Linked DNA regions of Homo sapiens: region 2 is linked to region 1. Evidence: promoter capture Hi-C in human tissues and cell types (Jung and others, 2019). All regions are on one chromosome and are shown on one strand. The core of a region is centred on a gene start or on the middle of the fragment in contact, and the rest is flanking DNA. Distances in the headings are between cores, read along the strand shown.

Region 1 (5,790 bases), core at 1,820-4,319:
TGTAGGTGCAGCTGGAGGTGGGCTTGGCAATTTGAAAGGTGGGAGGTTGGGGAGACTTATCCTCCATGTAGGCAGCGGGGGTCACTTTTGAGAATAAAGGAGAAGAAAATGGATCAGAGGCCTGAGAGGGGTGTGGAGGGCTGCTCTGTTTAGAGAACCCCAGCAGGACTCCCAGACAGGGCACAGTCTTTGTCCTTGTGATTTCTCTCCCGATATTTTTTTTTTCTCTTAGAAAAATTCTCATCAAAGTTCCATGCAAGACCATTTAAGGGTTAACACATTTTCCCCCAAAATGACTGCAGTCCCTCTACTGAAATTCATTTTATGAGTCCAGTCTGTTGAAAGATAAGAAAACTATCACAGTGGAGATGGAAGATGGAAATTGGGCTCAGAGAGCAAAGAAGGGTGAAAAAGATATGGACACATATATCCATGGCACAAATTTTAATGATTTCTGTAAAGTATAATTAAAGGAAATTACAGGAAGTTTCATTTGATTTTCTTAGAGGTCCTGAAACTCACGAGTGTTACAGAGTTATAGTATTTACAGAAAGAAAGGCTATTAAAATTCAAGAGAATGTGGAAGGAGCTGCCGTCTTTTTTGAAAAAATTCCTTTACATTGCAAAAGATGACCCAAGCTATTCTTTAAAATTCAACATCTCTGATATTATTCTCACAGTAGAGCAGTTAACTGCAGATAAAATTAGTTCTTCCTGTCAAATCATTGTGTTATTCCACCAAAATAGGTGTCTTCTACGTACACAGCCTTGGACAATGGAAATCCTTGACAAGGAGCAGCTGCTTTTGTCCAGTACTTCACGTCAGCCGCTAGAAAGCAGGGACGGCCAGGCGGGCTCTTGCAGAACCTGCCATGCCGGTGGCCCTGCGGGTCCGGCTGCAGCTCCCACCTTCGCACTCTCTCTGGGATGATTTGGGTCAAGGCAGAGCTGTGCAGCCTCTGTACATCCTCATCAAGCACGGACTCAAAAACTGAGTCCTAATCAGCAGCCGTTTCAAAATTCCTGAAGGTGTGGAGTCATCCCAGACCCTCTGGCAAGCTCCGGAAGGGTGTTATGGGAGGAAAGTGGGTGTCTATAGGCGGTGATATGGGTTTGCACCATAAGGAGAGGATCCAAGTCCTGTTTGCTACACATGTGCTGAGGGAAAGACACTTTCTTCAAGAGGTAGTCACCAAAAAGCTGGTCACACCTACGGACAGCAGCATGGTTTCCCCTGAGGGGGGCACTGGAAATCGCTAAGCTGAGTGGCAGGTGGCACTGGCTGCTCTTTTGGGTGGAAGCAATAGACTGTGTTCACCTGAGACTCAGCAAGAAGAGGCGTGTCCCACCCCGAGTACTTCCCGTTGACCCCGCAACCGCCCCTGCAACGACGGGGATGGAAGGGGAGGGCGGCTTCGTAAAAGGCACCTGGGACCCCCACAACTAGCATTCCTTTGACAAAAATCAGAAATCTTTGGGAAAGGGGGAAGGAAAAGGGGGCAGAGTCCAGCCGAAAAGCCGACCTCAAAGAACCATTTTGGGGTATTTCTTTTCTCTTGACTGCTTGGGAAATGCCTTCGGTTCACCCACCACTTCTGAAGGGGCTTCACTTCTAAGGCGAGAGGCCAACGTCCCAACAGAGGGACTCTCACTTCTTTCTGCCATTTGTTAAATTGTTCCATAAATTAGTTGTTTTACATAAAATTTGGAACTACGATCTGGGAGGCCGAGGGGCTGCACCACCAGTAAGTCGCTGACTCAAATGGGCCCTTTAATCCCCAAACCCAAACTCTTTCCTCGATCGAACCGCTGGCCTCAACCTACAAGCCTCCTCCACCGCCAAAAGTCGGGAAGGGTTGGTCCTTTTGTTTTACAAATGAATTAAAATTAGATCCACAGGCCCGCGTAACGCTGGGGAATACCCAGGGCGAGGCCAGCTTCCAGGAGGTCAGCGCCAACACCGCCGGCAGGAATCTGGGGGGATGGGGAGGTCTCCTCATCTCTGAGCCTTGAGCACCAGGCCTGAATTTTCGCCTCTTTCGCACAGGTGCCCGACTCGGAGTCCGGGAGGCGGGCCCTCTTTCCAGGTACCCAGCCCAGCGTCAGCCTGGGTCCATCCTCCGCCACCCCACAGCGCGGGGAGCAGGGGAGGCCGAAAGCCGGGCAGCTTGGGGGGCCGGGATAACCCGGGCTGCAGCAACCCCGGGCGGCAGCAGGACTGGAGAGCTGGTGTCGGACGCACTGCAGAGACGTCCCTGTTTTCGGCGCGTCCTCCGACACCCAGCAGAGAGCTTGGCGCTCTCCGCTCTGCGCGCCCGAGGTCACAGCGCGGAGAAACCTGGCGGGGCCCCGGACTCCCCGGCTTGGGAAAAGCGATGACTGCCCTGAACTGCTGGGGCGTTCGAAATTTCCAGGGTCCCGACCCTCCGTGGGGTACGCGCGACTTCGGCGCAGATGTCAGTCCGCTGCCTTCCGGGTTGAGGGAGCGAGGACTCCAGACGACCCCAGGGCCGCTGTCCAGGCCCAGCCCCGCGTTCTCCACCTCGCCACCTCGCTCTGCGGCTCCAGCCTGGAGATCTACGGACTTCATTGCGATCTCTTGCGCAGTGTAGTCGCCCTCTATCCCTAGCCCCGAGTCCCGGGTAACCCAGGGGCCCCGGCGAGGCGAGTTTCTTTGGGGCGAGATGTCCCGAGCCGAGCAAAGGGGCCGCGCATTGGACGGGGCTCCCAAGCCACAGCCCTGGGGGCCTTGAGGAGTCGTGGTACGGTCCAGGGCAGTCGGGGCTGCGGGGCCCGTGAAGCCAGACGAGGCTACGGACTTAGGGTCCCTGCAACCAAGACCGCGAGCGACTGTGGACTCGGGACGGATCGCACAAAGGAGGAAGGGGGAATCAGAGGGGCGTCCGGTCCAGGACGTGTCAGGCCTGGGCGGGGCGGAAAACTGACACCAGGGCGAGGACAAGGATTTCGCTCCTCCAGGGCTGCCAGGGGAGGGGCTCGCCACCGTCACTCTCCATGGGCTCTGGCCCCGACGGTGTTTAAAGGGCGGAGGGCTGGGCCGGGCTGGTCGCACCCGGGCGCTGCTGGCGGCCAAGCTGGATGGGTCGCCAGTGAGTTTCGGTGCGGCACCGCTGGCCCAGGCCCGGGCGCGGCTGGACATGGCCACCTACTGCGACGACCTGGGCCCCTCCTCGGCCCCGCCCGGCCAGGCCCAGGCCACCGCGCACCCCCCGGGCTATGAGCCAGGGGATCTGGGCGCGGTGGGCGGGGGCCCCCTCCTGTGGGTGAACGCGCCAGCGCTCAGCCCCAAGTCCTACGCTTCGGGTCCCGGGCCTGCGCCGCCCTACGCGGCCCCGAGCTACGGGGCTCCCGGCCCGCTCCTCGGCGCCCCGGGCGGCCTGGCGGGCGCCGACCTCGCCTGGCTGAGCCTCTCCGGCCAGCAGGAGCTGCTGAGGCTGGTGCGGCCGCCCTACTCCTACTCGGCGCTCATCGCCATGGCCATCCAGAGCGCGCCGCTGCGGAAGCTGACGCTCAGCCAGATCTACCAGTACGTGGCTGGTAACTTCCCTTTCTACAAGCGCAGCAAGGCGGGCTGGCAGAACTCCATCCGCCACAACCTGTCGCTCAACGACTGCTTCAAGAAGGTGCCCCGCGACGAGGACGACCCAGGTAACAGCGGCGCGCCGGCTCGCTCCGTCCAGGACTCCCCATCTTCCCGCCGGGCCGCGGGCACTCCGGGGGTGGGAGCACCTTAGACAACCTAATTTCTCCCTGCGCGGTTGGGGATACCCGGGGAGGAGGGAGAAGGGGAAGAAGTGCTTGGGCATGGACAGGTTCTCAGACAGCGGCTGAGCCCACCACAGGCCCGCGTTTACAGTGCGGCGGTCCCGGGGCTCTCAATCTCTGTGCGCTCCTTCGGAGGAAGAAGCGGGAGAGCCAGCAAGCTGGGTGACCTTGGGAGTGACTCAACTTCCCTGGGCCTCAGTGCCCTACCTGGTAAAATGGGGAAGACAGCGCCTACCCCAAGGATGGGCAAAACAAATAGGATGCCCGTTTGGAAAGCTCTGGAGCCTACCTGGGGGCCTGGCGTGGTCTGCGCTGTCCTTGGCAGAGCGGCTGGCGGAGTCCCACCATTAGCATCTCGCAGGCCTTCCTTCACCTTAACGGGGCTCGGCCTTTCCCAGGGCTCCCTTCCTCCTCCTTTCTGGATTGTCACTTTCTTCCCAGTCCTGCTGTGGAGGCCCATCGGGTACAGAGTGCCCGTCAAGGGTGGAATGGGGGCGAGGACTCAGACCCTCTGTAAGGGCCAGCAGGGGATCTTTCTGAAGCTGACCTCCTCGCTGGCTCACACCACGGCCCGTCAAAGCTCGAACCTTCTGAACTGGGCTGTTTCTTCTTCTGCAGGTAAAGGCAATTACTGGACCCTGGACCCCAACTGCGAGAAGATGTTTGACAACGGGAACTTCCGAAGGAAGAGGAAGAGGAGAGCTGAAGCCAGCGCGGCCGTGCGCTCGGGAGCCAGGAGCGTGGGAGGGGCCGAGGCGCCAGCGCTGGAGCCCCCGAGCGCGGCTTGCCTGGACCTGCAGGCCTCGCCCTCTCCATCCGCACCCGAGGCCGCCACCTGCTTCTCCGGTTTCGCTTCTGCTATGAGCGCTCTGGCTGGCGGCCTTGGCACCTTCCCCGGGGGCCTGGCGGGCGACTTTTCTTTCGGGAGGCGGCCACCGACAGTCGCCACCCACGCTCCCCAGACCCTTAACCCCTCCCCTGGCTTCGCCCCTGGCCACCAGACCGCGGCCGCCGGCTTCCGCCTCAGTCACCTCCTCTACAGCCGGGAAGGGACCGAAGTTTGAAGGGAGGCTGGAGGCTAGCCGGGTGCGGGTCCAGAGGTGCTGAGCTCAGGCCTCCGGTTTCCCCTGGTGACAGCCCCACGTGTTGGCGTTGAAGGCCTTGGTGCCCTGGGAGGAAGCGCAGAGCCGGGGGCGGCTCGGCCAGCAGGGAGCTGGGCTGAGCGGCTCTTGGGCTTTGGGGTGGGTGGCCCTTCTGCTGTGCACCCCTCACCCAGGCGACCTTCGGAACCTCCCTGCTCTGCCTCTAAGTCCAGCCGCCCTGGGCGTCTAGAACCTGTGCTCTCGAGGGATTTGCCTTGAAGGGGCGGCGGGTCGGCCCTCAGCTCCAGCGTTTTCCAAGGAGGCTGGCTGACTCCAAAGAGCCTTAGAGCAGATGGGAAGAAGGTGGGCTGCCAGAGCGGCCCAGGTGGTGGGGGCCCTTTCCACCTCCACCCAGCTTGGCCCACCTGGCTCAGGGCCTTCCCTTCTGCTTCAGGGAAGCTGCCGCAGGGGCTGGGGGACAGAGCTCAGGAGCAGCTGCAGTGGGCTCCAGGTGGGCCAGGAGCCTGCAGTGAGGGGATCTGAGACAGTTGGCATTGGGTCCTGTGTAAGGAAGGTCTTGCTAATGGTTGGAACTGCTGGTGGTGGGAGGGAGAAGCACTGCGTGGGCAGAAAGCGCCCTTGGGATACCAGCTCCCTTCCCTGTCACTCAGCCCTGGTCCTTGATGACCCCCCTCTAGGACAAGGCAACTCCCCAGGGCCCCGCCACCACTGACCACAGGAGCGGTGCCCAGCACCCAGGAGTTCCCCAAGGGTCCAGGTTTGTGCCACCCACACCCACACTCACACCCACACTCACACCCACACTCACACCCACACCCACACCCACACCCACACTCACACTCACACTCACACCCACACTCACACCCACACTCACACCCACACCCACACCCACACTCACACA
Region 2 (5,542 bases), core at 2,650-5,149, 49 kb after region 1:
GGGCTCCACAGCATGGAGCCACACATCACCCTGGCTGGACAGGTATGAAAGACCCTCTGAAAGTCACTAATAACAAAGAGGAATACGATGACCTTAACCACGCTGGGAAGCCAAAATCACAGCTCTGCACTTTCCAGAAATGATTCATTCTCAAACCTCATCCTTGCAGCTTCCTGCTCATTTTAAAGTAACCCACAAGAAAACTGTGAGGAGCCTGAGCTATTTCACACTTGCCAAATTTCCCTCCCCTTTGATGCTGAAAACAGAAGATATTTGGGAAGTTTTGTTTTCATACCTTGAAATTTTTTGCTGATTATTTACCATGTAAATGCAACTGAAAATACAATCATTCTTAACTACCAAATGTCATTTTGATTCAGTTATGCGGAGTCAGGACCTTTTACATATTCTGAGACAAAAATTTCTTTTTTTCCTATTTGGATGCCCTCTATTTCTTTCTCTTGCTTGATTGCCCTGACCATAACTTCCAATACTATGTTGACTAGGAGAGGTGAGAGAGGGCATCCTTGTCTTATGTTAGTTTTCAAGGGGAATGCTTCCAGCCTTTGCCCATTCAGTATGATGTTGGCTGTGGGTTTGTCATAGATGGCACTTATTATTTTGAGGCATGTTCCTTTGATACATAGTTTATTGAGAGTTTTTAACATGAATGGATGATGAATTTTATCAAAAGCCTTTCTGCGTCTATTGAGATCATCATGTGGTTTTAGTCTTTTGTTCTGTTTATGTGATGAATGACATTTATTGATTTATGTATGTTGAACCAAGCTTGCATCCTGGGGATGAAGCTTACTTAATTGTGGTGGGTAAGCTCTTCAATGTACTGCTGGATTTGGTTTGCCAGTGTTTTGTTGAGGATTTTTGCATCAATATTCATCAAGGATATGGCCTGAAGTTTTCTTTTTTTGTTGTATCTCTGTCATGTTTTGGTATCAGGATGGTGCTGGCCTTATAGAATGAGTTAAACTATCCCTGTTTGCAGATGACAGGATCCTATATCTACGAAACCCCGTAGTCTCAGCCCAAAAGCTTCTTAAGCTGATAAACAACTTCAGCCAAGTCTCAGAATACAAAATCAATGTGCAAACATCACTAGCATTCCTATACAACAACAACGATCAAGCCGAGAACCTTATCAGGAATGAACTCCCGTTCACAATTGCCACAGAAACAATAAAATCCTTAGGAATACAGCTCAGCAGCAGGGTGAAAGATCTCTACAAGGAGAACTACAAACCACTGCTCAAAGAAATAAGAGATGACACAAACAAATGGAAAAACATTCCATGCTCATGGATAGGAACAATCAATATTGCGAAAATGTCCATACTGCCCAAAGCAACTTGTAGATTCAATGCTATTCCTATTAGACTACTATTGACATTCTTCACAGAATTTGAGAAAACTATTTTAAAATTCATATGGAACCAAAAATAAGCCCAAATAGCCAAGACAATCCTAAGCAAAAAGAACAAAGCTGGAGACATCATGCTACCCGACTGCAAACTCTACTACAGAGCTACAGTAGCCAAAACAGTATGGTACTGGTACCAGAACAGATACATAGACCAATGGAACAGAATAGAGAACCCAGGAATAAGACTTCACACCTACAACTATCTGATCTTAGATAAACCTGACAAAAGCAAGCAATGGGGAACGGATTCCCTATTCAATAAATGGTGCTGGCATAAATGGCTAGCCATATGCAGAAGATTGAAACTGGACCCCCTCCTTACACCATATACAAGAATCAACTCAAGATGGATTAAAGACTTAAATGTAAAACCCAAAGCTATAAAAACCCTGGGAGACAACCTAGGCAATACTATTCAGGATGTAGGCACAGGCAAATATTTCATGACAAAGATGCCAAAAGCAATTTCAACAAAAGCAAAAATTGGCAAATGGGATCTAATTAAAGTAAAAAGAAGCTAAAGAAAAGAAATTATCAACAAAGTAAACAGCCTACTGATTGGGAGAAAATTTTTGCAAACTATGCATCCAACTAGGTTTAATATCCAGTAGCTATAAGAAACTTAAACAAATTTATAAGAAAATAAACACAACCCAATTAAAAGTGGGCAAAGGACATGAACAGACACTTTTCAAAAGAAGACATACATGTGGCCAGCACTCACATGAAAAAAAGCTCAACATCACTGATCATTAGTGAAATGCAAATCAAAACCACAATGAGATACCATCTAACACCAGTCATAATGGCTAATACTAAAAAGTCAAAAAAATAACAGATACTGGCAAGGTTGTAGAGAAAAAGGAACACTCATACACTGTTGGTGGGAGTGTAAATTAGTTCAGCCATTGTGGAAGACAGTGTGGCAATTCCTCAAAGATCTAAAGACAAAAATACCATTCAACCCAGCAATCTCATTACTGGGTATATACTCAGAGGAATATAAATCATTATGTTATAAAGACACATGCATGCATGTGTTCATTGCATCTATTTTCATATTAGCAAAGGCATGGAATCAACCTTAAAGTCCAGCAGTGATAGGCTGGATTTTTAAAATGTGGTACATATACACCATGGAATACTATGCAGCCATAAAAAAGAGGTGAGATCATGTTCTTTGCAGGGACATGGAGGTAGCTGGGGGCTATTGTCCTTAGCAAACTAACACAGGAACAGAAAACCAAGTATCATGTGTTCTCACTTACAAGCGGGAGCTGAATGATGAAAACACATGGACACATAAAGGTAAACAACACACACTGGGGCTCTTCAGAAGGTGGAGGGTGGGAGGAGGTTGGGAGGAGAGAATTAGGAATAATAAATAGTGGGTACTAAGCTTAATACCTGGGTAATAAAATAACTTGTACAAAAAAATCCCATGATAAAAGCTTACCTACGTTACAAACCTGTACATATACCCCTGAACTTAAAATAAAAGGTAAAAAGAAAATAAAATACAGTAGAGCCATAATTTTTTTTTTCTTTGAGAGAGAGTTTCACTCCGTCACCCAGGCTGGAGTACAGTGGTGCAATCACAGCTCACTGCAGCCTTGCCAGGGCTCAGGTGATCCTCTCACCCCAGCCTCCCAAGTAGCTGAGACTACAGGCGCAGGCCACCATGCTGAACTATTTTTTGTAGAGACAGGGTTTCACTATGTTGCTCAGGCTGGTCTTCAACTCCTGGGCTCAAGAGATCCACCCAGCTCGGCTCTCCCAAAGTGCTGCGATTACAGGTGTGAGCCACTGCACCCGGCCGAGGCAAAAATTTCTAATGATTATTCTATATTTTTTTATGTTGGTGAAACAGGATCAGAAATGTAAATGTAAAAAAAAATGAAACCTTTTAAGTACTAGAAGAAACTGTGAGTGAATCTGTCTTTAATATGGGAGTGGAGAAAAGTCAAAACCCAAAAACAGTAAGAGAAAGGATTGACAGGCCAGGTGCAGTGGCTCACGCCTGTAATCCCAGCACTTGGGAGTGCCGAGGTGGTTGGATCTCTTGAGCCCAGAAGTTCAAGACCAGCCTGAGCAATATAGTGAAACCCTGTCTCTACAAAAAATAGCTCAGCATGGTGGTCTGTGCCTGTAGTCCCCGCTACTTGGGAGGCTGAGGTGGGAGGATCACCTGAGCCCTGGCAAGGCTGCGGTGAGCTGTGATTGCACCACTGTACTTCAGCCTCTAGTAAAAATACAAAAAAATTAGCTGGGTGTGGTGGCACACGTCTATAGTCCCAGCTGGGACAGGAGGCTGAGACAGGAGGCTGAGGCAGGAGAATCATTTGAACCTGGGAGGTGGCGGTTACAGTGAGCTGAGACCAGGATATTGCACTCCAATCTGGGCGACAGAGTGAGACTCTGTCTCAAAAAAAAAAAAAAAGAAAAAAAGAAAAAGGATTGATAGATTTGATCTCACATATACACAATTTCTTTTCATAGCAAAATGTAGTTATATTGTCTTGATGTACAAAATGTTCCTCTTTGTAGTAATATGTCCAGCCTTTAAATCTATTTTGTATGGTATCAATGTAGCAACTCCCGTTCAAAGTCTTCATAGGGTATCCTTAACCAGGCTGTAACTTTCAGTCGATTTGTTTTTATATTCAAAGTAAATATCTTGTAATAGTATATATTAATAGTTCTTGAATTTCTATACTGTCTTTTGAAAAGTATCTAGTTCATTTCAATTATTAATATTATTGTATTTAAGATTGCTATTTTACTATTTTTAGAGTTTGTCTTATTTGTTTATTTTTCATCTCTTCTTCATGCCCTGCCTTGAGAGAGAGAGAGATTGTGTGTGTGTGTGTGTGTGTGTGTGTGTGTGTGTGTGTCTGTGAGAGAGAGAGAAATATATAGAGAGAAATATTTCAATATTTCATTTTAATTCCTTTAGTGGCTTTGTAGCTACCTCTTTGCATTACTTTTTAGTGGTTGCTCTAAGAGTTACAATATACATCTTAAATTTTCATCAAACTACTTAAAGTTAATATTGAATTATTGCAAGTAAAATACAGGAAACTCAAAACTATATATTTCTGTGTATCCCCACACACCTTCTTTGTGATATTATTGCCTTATAGATTTCATCTATAGGTGTTACAAATCCATCAATACAGTGCCATCATATTTGCTTTACAAAGTCACAGATCTTTCAAGAAAATTAAGAGACAATGTATATATTAATAATGTCTTTCATGTAGCCACATACTCAACATTTCTGGTACTCTTCATGCCTCTGGTAAATCAGCGTTATTTGTGCTGTTTTCCTTCAGCCTGAAGAATTTGCCTTACCAATTTGTTGTTGTTGTACGTGTCTGCTTCTACCAATTTCTCTCAGTTTTTTGTTTATCTGAACATGTTTTTATCTTACCTTTATTTTTGACAGATGATTCCACTGGACATCAAATTTTTAATTGAGAGAGTTTTATTTGTTTGTTTGGTTTGGTTTGGTTTTATTCAGCACTTTGAATATTTTTTTCCAATGTCTTCTAGTTCCCAAGGTTTTGAAAAGAAGTCAGCCCTTAATCTTGTCACTGCCCCTCTATCTGTGATATGTTTCTTTGTTTCTTAACGCTTTCAATATTGTTCCTCTGTCTTTTTGGCTTTCAGCATTTGACTATGTATGTTTAGAAACAACTTTTTGGTGTTTGTACTGCAAGAGGTTTGTTGAGATCCTTGAATCTATAAAATAATGATTTCCACCAAATTTATTTTATCAAATAGATACTTTTTCTGTTTTCTCTCTTTTCTTTCCTGAGATTCCCATACACGTATGTTGGGCCGCCTCATATTGTCCATAGGTCTCTGAAGTTTCGTTCATTAATCTTCAATACTTGTTCTCTCTTTTTGTCACATTTTTATTTTTATTTTTTATTAGTAATTTTTATTAATCCATCGTCAAGTTTATTTATTCTTCTGCTCTTTATAAAGTGCTGTTGCACCCAACTAGCAAATTTTTATTTCATTATTGAACTCTTTGCTCCAAGACTTTTTATTGTTTGCTTTCCTCTATTGAGTTTGTCTATCCATTCATTACTAGCA

What was found. Contacts are between HindIII fragments. The study calls those that stand out against the background at their distance.
Region 2: a fragment that was not itself captured here is called in contact with the fragment with the promoter of FOXI2 in region 1 in 2 of the 25 tissues and cell types used here (hippocampus and pancreas).

The regions. Positions count from the first base shown.
Region 1 is chr10:127,734,116-127,739,905 of GRCh38, forward strand. FOXI2 (forkhead box I2) reads left to right here and starts at 3,070. Exons shown (of 2, transcript NM_207426.3): 1 at 3,070-3,669; 2 at 4,405-5,790. The coding sequence starts at 3,159. The coding sequence ends at 4,850. The HindIII fragment of the contact is 23,826 bases long and covers 1-5,790 here.
Region 2 is chr10:127,782,173-127,787,714 of GRCh38, forward strand. No RefSeq gene overlaps it. Among named protein-coding and RNA genes, the nearest start is that of FOXI2, 48 kb to the left of the region's middle. The HindIII fragment of the contact is 6,201 bases long and covers 800-5,542 here.